Linked DNA regions of Homo sapiens: region 1 is linked to region 2. The links are contacts of gene promoters, found by promoter capture Hi-C in blood cells and fetal thymus (Javierre and others, 2016). All regions are on one chromosome and are shown on one strand. The core of a region is centred on a gene start or on the middle of the fragment in contact, and the rest is flanking DNA. Distances in the headings are between cores, read along the strand shown.

Evidence for each region. The method cuts DNA at HindIII sites, captures the fragments that hold promoters and counts their contacts. A CHiCAGO score of 5 or more calls a contact.
Region 1: a fragment that was not itself captured here is called in contact with the fragment with the promoter of CBX2 in region 2 in 1 of 17 cell types (monocytes); the score reaches 5.7 in monocytes.

What each region holds. Positions count from the first base shown.
Region 1 is chr17:79,874,248-79,880,472 of GRCh38, reverse strand. No RefSeq gene overlaps it. Among named protein-coding and RNA genes, the nearest start is that of CBX4, 38 kb to the right of the region's middle. The HindIII fragment of the contact is 5,659 bases long and covers 1,169-6,225 here.
Region 2 is chr17:79,775,635-79,782,267 of GRCh38, reverse strand. It overlaps CBX2 (chromobox 2), which reads right to left and starts at 4,120. Exons shown (of 5, transcript NM_005189.3): 1 at 3,961-4,120; 2 at 3,841-3,884; 3 at 2,841-2,906; 4 at 467-572. The coding sequence starts at 4,032. RefSeq lists an enhancer at 2,867-3,460 and silencers at 3,856-3,925, 3,936-4,315. The HindIII fragment of the contact is 13,003 bases long and covers 1-6,633 here.

The sequences.
Region 1 (6,225 bases), core at 2,749-5,248, 98 kb before region 2:
GCCATGTGTAAATTTGCTACAATTTGTGTGTGTCGGGGAACGGGGGCTGCGGGCAGTTGAGAGCATTTTGCTCTGTCGCCCAGGCTAGAGCGCAGCAGTGCTATCACAGCTCACTGCATCCTCAACCTACCAGGCTCAGGCAATCCTCCTGCCTTAGCCTCCCTAGTAGCTGGGATCACAGGCATATGCCACCATGCCTGGCTAATGTTTTTGGTTTCTTTTTTTAGAAAAAGTCTTGCTCTATCACCCAGGCTGGAGTGCAGTGGCACAATCTTGGCTCAACCTCCACTTCCCTAGTTCAAGCGATTCTCCTGCCTCAGTCTCCCGAGTAGCTAGGATTACAGGCACGGGCCTGTATCCTAAACCACAACCAGCTGATTTTTGTATTTTTAGTGGAGAAGGGGTTTCACCATGTTGGCCAGGCTAGTCTCGAACTCCTGGCCTCAGGTGATCCACCTGCCTTGCCCTCCCAAACTGCTGGGATTACAGACATGAGCCACCATGCCTGGCCAATGGCTGGCTAATTTTTAAAATTATTTATAGAGATGGGATCGCATTATGTTGCCCAAGCTTGTCTTGAACTCCTGGGCTCAAGTAATCATTCTGCCTTGGCCTCCCAAAGTGCTGGGATTACAGGTGTCAACCACTGTGGCTGCCCTAAATATGCTACAATTATATACTTATAAAGATGTGCATTCACAAATTACTTCCAATTTCTTTATTTTTTTTGTTTTGCTTTGGTTTCACCACCATAGACAGTGCCGAAAAAGCATTCTTTTTTTTTTTTTTTTTTTTGAGGTGGAGTCTCACTCTGTTGACCAGGCTGGAGTGCAGTGGGGCCATATCAGCTCACTGTAACCTCCGCCTCCTGGGCTCAAGTGATTCTCCTGCCTCAGCCTCCTGAGTAGCTGGGATTACAGGTGTGTGACACCATGCCCAGCTAATTTTGTATTTTTAGTAGAAACAGGGTTTCACCATGTTGGCCTAGCTGGTCTCGAACTCCTGACCTCAGGTGATCCACCTGCCTCAGCCTCCCAAAATGCTGGAATTACAGGCATGAGCCACCGCACCCAGCTGGAAAAGCAATTCTTTTACATCTATTTTCATACCCCGTTGTTTTTGTTTCTAAAGAAGAGGTTCCCCAGAGTGGAATCACTGGGTCAAAGCTTATGTGTATTATTTTCATTTTAGTAGATATTGCCAGAGTACTTTCCCAGGAAGTAATTGCATTCACATTTCCACCAAGCATGTCCATGTCTATTTCCCCCAGGTTTTTTGCCTCAGTGAATCTTAGAGCTTTTATTAAATTTTAGCAACCTAAAGGGCGAACAATGTATCACTTCATGGCCTTAATTTGCATTTTCCTTTTGATGAGGCTAAACATTGCTTCATGTTTGCTCACTAGAACCAATGTTGGTCATCGTATCTGTATCTTTAAATAATGTCATATTTTACTAGGGTTTGCATATATTTTAAGTGCAATTGACTATGTGAATTTCCTTTTCTATGAATTACTTGTTTATATTTATGCCTATTTTTCTGTTGAGTTGTTTATCTGTTTCTTATCAAATTTGTGGGCTTTTTGAATATTGAGAAAATTAAACATGATACACACATATACATGCCTCACACATCATGTATATACCCAAATATGTGCATCTTTCTCTCACACACACACCCATACAATAGAGAGAACGACATGTTCCCGGGCACAGTCCAGCGGGAAAATCAGGGCCTGGAGGGGTAGGTGTGGAGCAGAGGGCAGGCAGAGGGCTGTGGGTGCACAGCACAGCTGATCCAGACCTTGGAAAGGGTTGGACCCCACTTGGCCTGCTATGACGTTCTCTTCCACTTCTGACATCCATATGAGGAAACGCAGGGGACCCTGCACCCCACGCCCTGGAATCCCTGGCCAGCACACCTGGTCTCCACCCTCCCCACCCATGAAATGGCTGTACCAGCAGGGGACAAATGGAGCCGGGCCTTGCTCCCACGTCCTGCTGCAGTAGCTTCCAGGAGCCTCAGTGCAGGTGCCTCCCACCTGATGTGTCTTTGGGGTGTTTTGAATGAGCAGCTTTTGGCGCGTGGAAGAGAATTGATTTCTCCTCCTGCTTCTGAGGCTCCACTCCTAAGGCCTTGATTACAGGAGGCCCTGGGGCTGGGGAGCGCTGGTGTCAGCCTGGCAGGTGCAGGTGATGTCAGCTCCCAGGCAATGACGTTGGGGTGGGTATGGGCACCATTCTGTGCCTGGATTCACTCTGTCATTTAACCCCTGTGTTCACAGAGTTCCCCAGGCCCAGCACCCCTCACTTTTCATGGCTTTGTCAGCATCAGGATGTGTCAGCCATCAGGAGACCTTCCCCATCCTCCTCCCCCCGGACCATCATCAAACCCACTCTCCTTCCCTCTTATGCCCTCACAGGAGGAACCTCTACCCGCAAGCTCAGGGTCAATTCCACTCCGGAACCACGTATGCAGCTCCCATAGGCACTGTAGGAGGTGCTGGTGATGGAGCAATGAGCCCAGCCCTGGCCCCGGGAGAGCATTATGTCCTCAGTTTCTCTTCTCTGGCTGCATCTTCAGCCTTCCTTCCACCAGGTCCTTCCCACTGGCTTCCAAACTTACTTCCATATGGCCCCTCTTAAAAAATAAAACAGAACCTGCATTCCAGACAAGATGATCTAGGCTCATTTCTTCCTGCTCCTCCCCTCTCAAAGTACAACCATAAGCCCTGGAAATAACACAAGAGACAACCCAAGGAGAACGCAGAGGTGGATGGAAGACAGTCGACAGGTGAGAGCCCCCGGACTGGAGGAGCCCCAGTGAGGCAGAGCGCCACGGCCCTCCACCTCGTGGAGGAAGGGAACCCAGGCCCAGCAAAAACAGACAAGCCAGATAGGGTCCTCTGTGTCCCCAGATTAAACAGGAGTCCCGTCCACAACATGTGGTAAGCTAGTGGCACCAGCAAAGGAACAAGCAGGGGCCCCATCACCCCGCTACTGAGACTTGGCCAGAGAAACCTCCCCTCCCCCACCAAGAGATGCCAGGGGCAGGGGTCACCTGCAGGAGGAACCTTTGTCTTCTTTGTCCCTGTGGGCTGCGGCTCCCTTCACCCACCTAGAAGCACCCACAGACACTCCTTCTGCCACCTTAAGAAGAACCAGCAGGAACCAGTAGCAGCCCCGATGGCACCAGATTAACCACGCCGACCAAACTAACACCAAAAAGGTTCTGCTAATTAGGTTGTCATGGAAACCACAGCCAGTAACAGTAGGGCAGGACCGGCATGCTAAACCTAAGCAGAGTGGCTGCCTACTAAAATAAAAGATTTATTTTATTTTATTTTATTTATTATTATTATTTTAGAGACAGGGTCTCACTCTGTGGCCCAAGCTGGAGTGCAGTGGCACGATCACAGCTCACTACAGCCTCGACCTCCCAGGCTCAAGTGATCCTCCCAGCTCAGCCTCCTGAGTAGCTGGGACTACAGATATATGCCACCACGCCTGGCTAATTTTTTAAATTTTTTGTAGAGACGGGAGTCTCACTATGTTGCTCAGACTAGTCTTGAACTCCTGGGCTCAAGCAATCCTTCTGCCTCAGCCTCCCAAAGTGCTCAGATTACAAGTGTGAGCCACCGCGCTGGCCAAAAGATTTGACGAGAGCCCAGAGCCTCCTAATGTAACAGCTTAAATGTCCAGGACACAATAAAAAAAAAAACTCGCCCATCATACCAAGGCCTGAAAAGGCCACAGGTTGAATGAGAAAAGACAACCAACCAATGCCAACACCGGGATAAATCAGATGTAGGAAAAATCTGGCCAGGACTTCAGAGCAGCATAAAAATGCTTTAGCAAGCAATTCTAAGTTATCTTGAAACATGAAAAAATAGAAAATCTCAGCAAATAGTTATCAGCAAGAACAGGATATAAATTACAGCACTGAAAAATACAATAACAGAAATGAACAGTCTCCATGGTAGAATGGGATCATAGAGGACAGAATTAGCGAACTTCAGAACAGATGGATAGAATTTACCCAAACTGAACAACAGAAAGTATACTGGTGTGGGGAGAAAAAGAACAGTACCTCAGGCATCTGTGGAACGATAGAACAAAAGATCCAACATACATATTATTGGAGTTACCCAGAAATAGGGGAGAAAAAGAAAGAGGCTGAGGCCTGGTGTGGTGGCTCACGCCTGTAATCCCAGCACTTTGGGAGGCTGAGGCGGGTGGATCACCTGAGGTCAGGAGTTCTAAACCAGCCTGGCCAACATGATGAAACCCCGTCTCTACTAAAAATACAAAAATTAGCCAGGCGAGGTGGCATGTGCCTGTAATCCCAGCTACTCGGACGCTAAGGCAGCAGAATCACTTGAAACCAGGAGGCAGAGCTTGCAGTGAGCTGAGATGGCGCCACTGCACTCCAGCATGGGCGACAGAGCGAGAATCTGACTCAAAAAAAAAAAAAAAAAAAAAAAAAAAATGAGGCTGAAAGAGTATTAAAAGAACGAGTGGCTTAAAACTTCTGAAATTTGCCAAATGACAAATCTACACATTCAAGAAGCTGAGCAAGTCCCAGATAGTTACCCAAAGAAATCCATGCTGAGACACCTGATAATTAAACTTCTGAAAACTAAAGAAAAAAAATATGTTGAAAGCTGCCAGAACAAAATGATACATTCCCTGTAGGGGAACACCCACTCAAACCATAGATTCCTCATCAGAAACCACGGAGACCAGGTGAAGGTGAGTGTTTGCAAGTGCTGCAAACAAAGAATTGCCAACAGCGAATCATGTCTGGCAAAACCATCCTTCAGGAATGAAGGGGAAATAAAGACATTCTGAGATTTTAAAGCGGCTTAAAAATATTTCAGTGGCAATTACAAGTTCTCTTGAAACAAATGAAAAAATAGAAAATCTATTTTTTTTCTGAACGAATTTGTTGCTAGCAGACCTGCCCTTAAAGAACAGCTAAAGGAAGTTTTTTCACAAAGAAAGAAAATGATTTTTAAAATAAAATGGGCTGGGCGTGGTGGCTCATGCCTGTAATCCTAGCACTTTGGGATGCTGAGGTGGCTGGATCACCTGAGGTCAGGAGTTCAAGACCAGCCTGGCCAACATGGTGAAACCCTGTCTCTACTAAAAATACAAAAATTAGCCGGGCATGGTGGCACATGCCTGTAATGCCAGCTACTCGGGAGGCTGAGTCAGGAGAAGTGCTGGAACCCGGGAGGCGGAGGCTGCAGCGAGCCGAGATCACGCCACTGCACTCCAGCCTGGGCGACGGAGAGAGACTCTATTTCAAATAATAATAAATAAAATAAAATAAAATAAAATGGAATCTTGGAGCATTAAGAAGGAAAAAATAATGGAAAGAACAAGTGTATGGGAATCTGCAATAGATGATCCTTCTCATGAGCTTTATAAATCAAATTTAATGATTGAAGCAAAAATTCTAACACTGTCTGATATTCAAGACAATGATATTTAAAAAGGTGTGGTGGGGGGTGCAGTGGCCCACGCCTGTAATCCCAGCACTTTGGGAGGCTGAAGCATGAGAATCCTTTGAGCCCAGGTGTTAAAGACCAGCCCAGGCAACATAGTGAGACCCCATCTCTACAATCAATCAATCAATCAATAGGCCAGGTGTGGTGACATGTGCCTGTAGTCCTGGTTACTCAGGCAGCTGAGGCAGGAAGATCACTTAAGAACAGGAGGTTGAGGCTGCGGTGAGCCGTGATTGTGCCACTGCACTCCAGCCTGGGCAACAAAGTGAGACCCTGTCTCAAAAATAACATAAAATGAAAATAAAAGGGGGACAGGTTAAAGAACCTACATGGAAGTAAGGCTTCCACATTCACTGCAGGTGGTAAAATGCTACCCGTGTACCTTGTAATAACCAGAGCGACCACTAGGGAAGTGATACAAAGAAACGCCCTCTAGATGACTATAAATCAACCAAGATGAACCTCAATCCTAATGTTCAAGGAATCCACAGAAAAGCAAGAAAACATACACAGAGAAAACAAATCCTTAAATGGCAGACCTAAGTCCTAACATATTGATAATTTTCTTTAAAGGTAAATGAAATACACCAAGTAAAAAGCAAGAGATTGGCAGTCTATTTTTTGAAAAACAACCTAACCATACACTGTTTACAAGAAACTCGCTTCAAATTCAATGGTGACATTTCACCAAAGAGAATATACAGATGGCAAGT
Region 2 (6,633 bases), core at 2,871-5,370:
TTCAGTCAGCCCTGCCTTTCGTGGCCACCTCGATTTAAGGTGCACCCGCAGGTGGGCCCGGAGTAGCCCCCAAATCTTAGGCTTTTGAGTCACATCCAGCCGGCAATCCTATGAGCACCTACTGTACGCATGCTTCCTGTTCCTTTCCGTCCCCCAAGGACCCCCTGGGAGGGAAGAGTGCTTGTCTGCAGCAGTTTGACCCTGCCACCCAGCAGAGAGGCGTGCAGGACAGGCTGAAGCAGGAAGCCCCTGGGAGGGGCGGGGAGGAACTCTCAGCCGGCTGGGGCCCCTGGCAGCAGAAGCTGAGAGACAGGAAGAAAGGGGGCTCCTGTTTTCCGAGTAGAGGGACAGACTGTTGGCAGAAGTGCCACCCCCTTCCTGAGGGCCCCAAACCCTCCCTCTGCCTGCCCCCTACGCCAAGGGGGTGCTGGGAGGTGGGGTCAGCATACCCAGCGCAGCCACCCACCTTGAGCTTGGAGCGCCGGCTGCAGGAGGACATGGCAGTGAGCTTCCTTGGCCGGCCTCTCGGCCTCTTGCCTCTCTTCCGGTTCTGCACCTCCTTCTCATGTTCCCTGAAGGCACACCACTAGTTAATGGGGGAGAAGCCCTGTGCGTACCCCTTCTACCATGTGGGACTCTATGGCTTCCAGCACCCTATTCCTGTTGGCCTGTAATAGCTTATCCTGTTTGCCGCAAACACATCATCAAATACCCAAGGCAGAGATCAGACCCCATTCTTTGCACTAGGGTCAGTAACCAGCCATCCCATTTCATTTGGCTAAGGACAAGCTGAAGACAGGAAAGCAACGCTGGGAAAACAATGACGCCCCAGTATTCTCTGACTTAAGACAGCTTCCTGCAGGTGCACTGCTGCATGGAAATTCTAGCATATTCTAACCAGAAGTGGCCTCGGTGGCCACACGGTCCAACCTCCTTACTTTCAATAGGAGAAGGAAGCCCAGGACAAGGAGATGCCACCAATCCCCTGGGCAGCTTCTGGTGCATAAAACCCTCACCCGGGCAAGGAGCACCGTGGGCCCTGTCCTCCAGCCCTCGCAGAGCCTGGCTGCTGGCACATGACTCTCCTTGTTTCCTTTTTAAAAATACCTCTCTGTTCCTAAACTCTACTCTTGAGGGAGATGACAGAGGTGCCGAGGTCTGAGGCAGGCAAGGCTCAATGCACGCACCACTCGCAGTACCCCCCCCGCCCCCAGAAGAGCCTCCACACCTCCAGGGTCATGAAGTGCTAGCAGAACCTCCAGCCCCCAGGGAAAGCCTGTATTTCAGAAAAGGGGCCCTGGTAATTATCTGGGCAAACATCATCTCATTGGGGCCTGGAAGGCAACCTCCTCAACACAGTTCTGATTAGTACCAGGCAAAGTTCATACTCTTAAGTGCTGGTCCTTAACCTGAAATCTCCTAAAAGGACAATGAAGTGTTGCATGGATCTCCTCCGCTGAAATATTAACCTGTGCACTGACTGCTGTGATCCTGTGCGTCGCCAAGGGCCATACCCCCACCCCCTCCAATACCAAGCAGGTAACCGCCAGCTCCTAGTGCCCAGAGAGAGCTAACATTTTGGTGGATGGAGAAGGCTGTCCCACCTTCTCTGTTTTCTTTCTTCCACGATGTCATCCAAGCCACCCATGGGTTTTACACTCTTCTTATCTCAGGTGTTTCTGCTCTAACCAAAACCACAATCTCTCTCAACAGTTAGGACACCGTCTTAGATCCAGAGAAGCGCACCAGCCTCTGAAGTGGGCCAAGCCATTCCCCCACCCCAAGGCTCACAGCACCCAGACAGGAACTAACAGAAGACGATGGGTTGCTGTTACGATTTTCCAAAGGGATTTAAGCAAGCACAGGCTCTTCTTTTTGCTCGCCCCACCAGAAAACTCTATTTCCCCATTATCATGACCCCTCTGGGAAGACCCAATATGTCCCGCTACAGTGGAAAAAAGGGAATGCACCTTTTGCTACCAGAGAACAAACCGTCCAGATTGACCCTGGCTGGGAAAGACTCCAGCAACCAATTCTTCTGCCTCTATCCACAGGGCAAGTCCAGCCAGGGGATCCAGGGGGAGCCGTCAGTGAAACCACCCCCCATCTTGCCATTGCTTGAACAGTACTCCCTGGCCCTTCATGCCAGGTGGGCACATCCACTGCCCTCTCCTCACCACCCCTTGCCCTTGAACATCTCAAGGAGGCCTATCTCTTAACCTAAACTTCCTACCTAAAAATAGAAATGACATCTAGAATTACAGAAACAAGTCTGGCCCAATCCGGCCTCATGGTGCTACTTGGTACTGTATGCTGCAGGCCAGAGCAAAATAAATGTTTCTTTCTTGAGAGAGACATCACAATAGGCACAACTGCGTGCTGTGTGTTCCAGCTCCCTCTCTGAGCCTTCTTGCCTGATGGCACACGCGTGCAGGGCTGGAAGGGCAGACCTGCGTCACTGTGGCAAACCTGCTCTCCTGGTTTTCTGTTAGCGCCATGTGCAAATTACTCAGCAGAAAAGGCCAAGAGAAGCTATAACATCTTTATCTGAAGCAACTGAAAAAGTTGGTTTTTGCAAGTATGGCTGTCGGAAACACCAAAGCAGCACTTACTTAGGTTCTTCTCAGGGATGGATACAGGCTGGCTAGGAGAAGGTGGGAGAGGGGCTGGCTGGGGACTTTTACAGCCAGCCACAGAGATGGCCCTGGACACAATCTTGCTAAGGGACCTCAGACCACAGCCCCAGCTCCAGCCTCCCGGCAGGCGAGCAGCGCCCAGCACGACTCCAACCAGCCACCGTCCCTCCCCCACACCCTCCCCAGTGCTGTCAGCGTCCTCACTTCTTCTGGAAGGCCAGGAGCAGCCTCGGGTCCAGGATGTTCTCCTCCGGCTCCCAGCTGTTATGTCTGCAAAGCAGAGGACAGGGCAGCATTAGACGCCAGGCTGATGATCACCGCTTTGCAAGGCAGCCCGAGGGGGCTCGCCCTCACCGCTCCTCGACTTGGGCCGATGGCAGTGGCACCGTAGCACCATGGCACTTCTCAAAGTCCAAACCCAGGTTTTGGAGGCTGGCCACCCCCCACCAAGCCAGCACTCTAACCTCAGACCCAAAGGGAAACTGCCGCTCCAACCCCCCAATTAAAACAAGGCCACAAGAGGACTCCCACAGTCTCTGCCTGGGAGAAAAACAAACCCCCATAAAACGCAAAGTTGCAGAGAGGGATTCCCCCAAACCCTGGCCCGGAGCCAGAGGAGGAAGGGAAGGCAGGTCCAGCATGCAGGGAGGGGCACAGGCGCCCAGCCCGAGATCCAGAACAATGTGGCGCGCGGGCCGGGGCACCTCGAGGGGTAGCGAAGAAAGAGCGGGGTCCGGGAAGACGCAGAAACGGGGCCGCGGGAGCAGCTGTGCAGAGAGCCCCTTCCGGGGATGCCAAACACCCTCCCTTCCATTAAAAGAAAGAAAAAAAAAAAGAAACTCTACATCCATCAATAGCAAGCTCAGGTTACAGCGGGGAGAATCTGGCCAAGAGGAGGGGGGCTTGCATCCCGCGCCTCCCTCCCGGCCGGGACGGGGGTTGGGGGGAGCGCGGCGCGGCAGCCGAGGAGGTTCTGGCGCGGGGGGCCGCCCAGCTCTGCACCCGCGGGCGTGTAAACAAAGGGCAACCTCGGGCCGGGCGGCCCCCGCCCCCCTCAGAGCCGGAGGAGCCCGCGGGGACCCCGCGAACTTCCCGCTCTGCCCGCGGGCGCCCCCAGGCCACCGGACGGCGCGGCCGAGGGGCTCCACGTCCCCACCCCCGGGCGAGGGGGCGGGAGGGGGGCGCGGCGTCGCGGGGGACTCACTTGGAGGACCAGCCGCGCCACTTGACCAGGTACTCCAGCTTGCCCTGCGGGGAGAGAAGAGGGGCCGTGAGCCAGACGGACAGCGGGCGGCGGGCGGGGGGCCCGGCGGGCCGCACGCACCTTGCGGAGCCGCTTGCTCAGGATGCACTCGGCGGCGAAGACCTGCTCGCCCACGCTGCTCAGCTCCTCCATGCTGCCCGGCAGCCAGCCCGACCGCGGCGCCCGCCGCCAGTCACCCGCCCGGACCGCCGCGCGCCCCGCCGGCAGCACACAAAGCACCGCCCCCGCCCGGCGCCGGCCCGCCCCGCGCACGCGCACCGCCGCTCCGCGCCCGCGCCCCGGCCCGCCGCCCGCCCCCGCGCGCTGCCCAAATCCCGTGCGGGCCAATCAGCGAGGGGGGGCGGGTGCGGGGCGGGGCGGGGCGCGCATTGTCCGCGGCGGGCTGGGCCTCGCGCTCCGGCGGGGGGTCCCGCGCGGGGCCCCGGGCGGGGGCGGGGGCGGGGGTGGGGGCGCGGGCGGGCCCCTGGCTGGGGGAGGAGGTGCCTAGGGACTTCGGGCCTGGGGCGCCCACCGAGTCCCGCGTGATTCCCGGGGCGCGCCCGCCCTTGCTCCCAACTCCGTTTTCCGGGCAAAAAGCCATTGTTCTGGCCCGAAGGGAGGGAAGCGGGACGGGGCGCGGCGGCTGCTTCCTGCCCCCGCCTTCGAGGGGCGCTGCTCCGGGGCACGCGGGGCCCCACCCTTCCCCCGGCTTCTTGAACTGGCTTTTCCTCGGCAGCGGGGGAGTCGCTCTGTTTTGGACGAGAGCAAAACGGGTCGGGGGCTGGGGAAGGAAAGGAAGACGAAGTCCGGGGGAGGGGCCCACAAACCCCAGCAGCCGAGGCTTTTTCCCCCAAAGGCGAGAGAGGAAAATGCTTTAACTTAAACCACCAAGCACTCTGAGAAAGAAGTAATACGAACTGCCCGGAGTTCTTATTAAACAGCTATGAAAAGTGGATCCAGCCCCCGAGTTTTAGGGCACGTGTAGGGAGAAAACCAGCTGCACCTTTTCTGAATTTGTTCCCCGATTTTGATGAAATGGAGGGGGAGGGGGCGGTTTGCAAGGCTGTTCCTAACTTCGGACTAGGTCAGTAGTGGCCCGCCAGGGCTGGGCAGCCGGCGTCCTTCGGATCAATTGTCCGCGGCAGAAAAGGGTCAGGCCATGTTATGAAAGTGGGGGTGACCCCTTGTCCTCCCTGTGATCGTCGTCAGCAGGCTACCCTTTTATTCCGGTGTTAAGATTCGAATTCCATGAAGAATCACCCTTTAAGTTATTTAGATTTTGAATCAGGACAAGTCAAACACGTAATGAAAGAGACCTGAGCCTTAGCTTCATTCGTCTCAACGCAGTCTAACTCCATGAAAATTCACTCTCTGCTTTTCTTGCTTCCTTGAACACAGCTGCAAAATTCTCTTTCTGTTGAGCAGATCCAAAAGTCGTTTCTTGTTGTAGGAGACTGTCTCAATGTAATTGTGATCATCAAAACCATATTTATAAAGGGTTCTGCAGGAGAAATGTGTTTTTTTGTTTTTACAGAAAGGCCTACTGGAGAAAATACTGAACTGTAGGAACCGATCTTTCAATTTATGGCGTGTTCTTCAGTTTCTTTGGTTAGATAGGTTACATTCATTTGATTTCCTGGAGAGTACGTGCAAATTCAGATGTTGTTTGCAAAGAGGGCAGGAGAAAGGGAAATGTCCTTGGGGGGAAGGTGTTTGTTTACTCAGGGGCAGAGGCAGTAAAGAATCCTTGTGTTGGGATAAAACTGGCCTCTGGAGTGAAGGGATCCGCTAACAGTGTCTCCGCCGGCTCCTTTTGTATCCCTGTCTTGTGCAGCTTGGCAGTAAATTGTGGAGTTGAGGGCAAAGGTGTATTTATTGTAATCCTACAAATAGCTGGATCAGTTTCACATCACGTTTCCTTGCAGAATTCATCTTGGGTCTAAGATTTTGCCCTGGAAGTTTCCAGTTTCCTCTTTGACTCATGGTATGCTGGGATACTTGCTTGATTTCTTTTTAAAGAAAAGAAGGCTTTGAAAAGGGAATGATTTCTTTGCTTAAGAAATAAATTTGCTAGAATTTGATACTAACACATTGAAAAAAATAAATCAGCGTCCAGGAAGGTTTAACATGTACATCATCTACCCAACTGCAAACAGTTTGGGTAAAATAATATTTAGATAATTCATTTGGAGAAACAAATATGACAGATTTGGCCAGAATGAAATAATCAGATACATTCTGTGAACGTGTGATCCAAAATCTGTGGCACGTTCCCTAAAAACAAAGCTGGGAATAGGCAGAAGGGAAGAATAACCCCCAGCTAATCCAACTGTGTAAAACAAGCGGACGTCTTCCGTTTTGACTGTCACATTTTAAGAATTATTAAGACAAGTTAAAACTAATTATTGTATTATTCATTCGACAGATAGTTAGTATGTACTATCATGTGGGCACTACTAGATATCCAGTAGTATAAGACCGTAGCAGCAGCTCCATCTGTGGGTGATGGAAGTGGATGGACAGAGCCTCCCTCCACTGCGTCCAGTGTGGTGGCCGTTAGGCACCTGGGACTGCTGAGCACTGGCAGTGTGGCTAGTGCCACTGAAGGCTCGAATTTTAAATTGTATTTCACTTTAATTCATTTCAGTGGGAGTAGCCACATGTAGCTGGTGGTCACTGTACTGGACACTTTGCAGGTCCACAGGAATGAGAGGGATCTGCTTTAAACATATTTTAAATGAAAGTAATACGGTT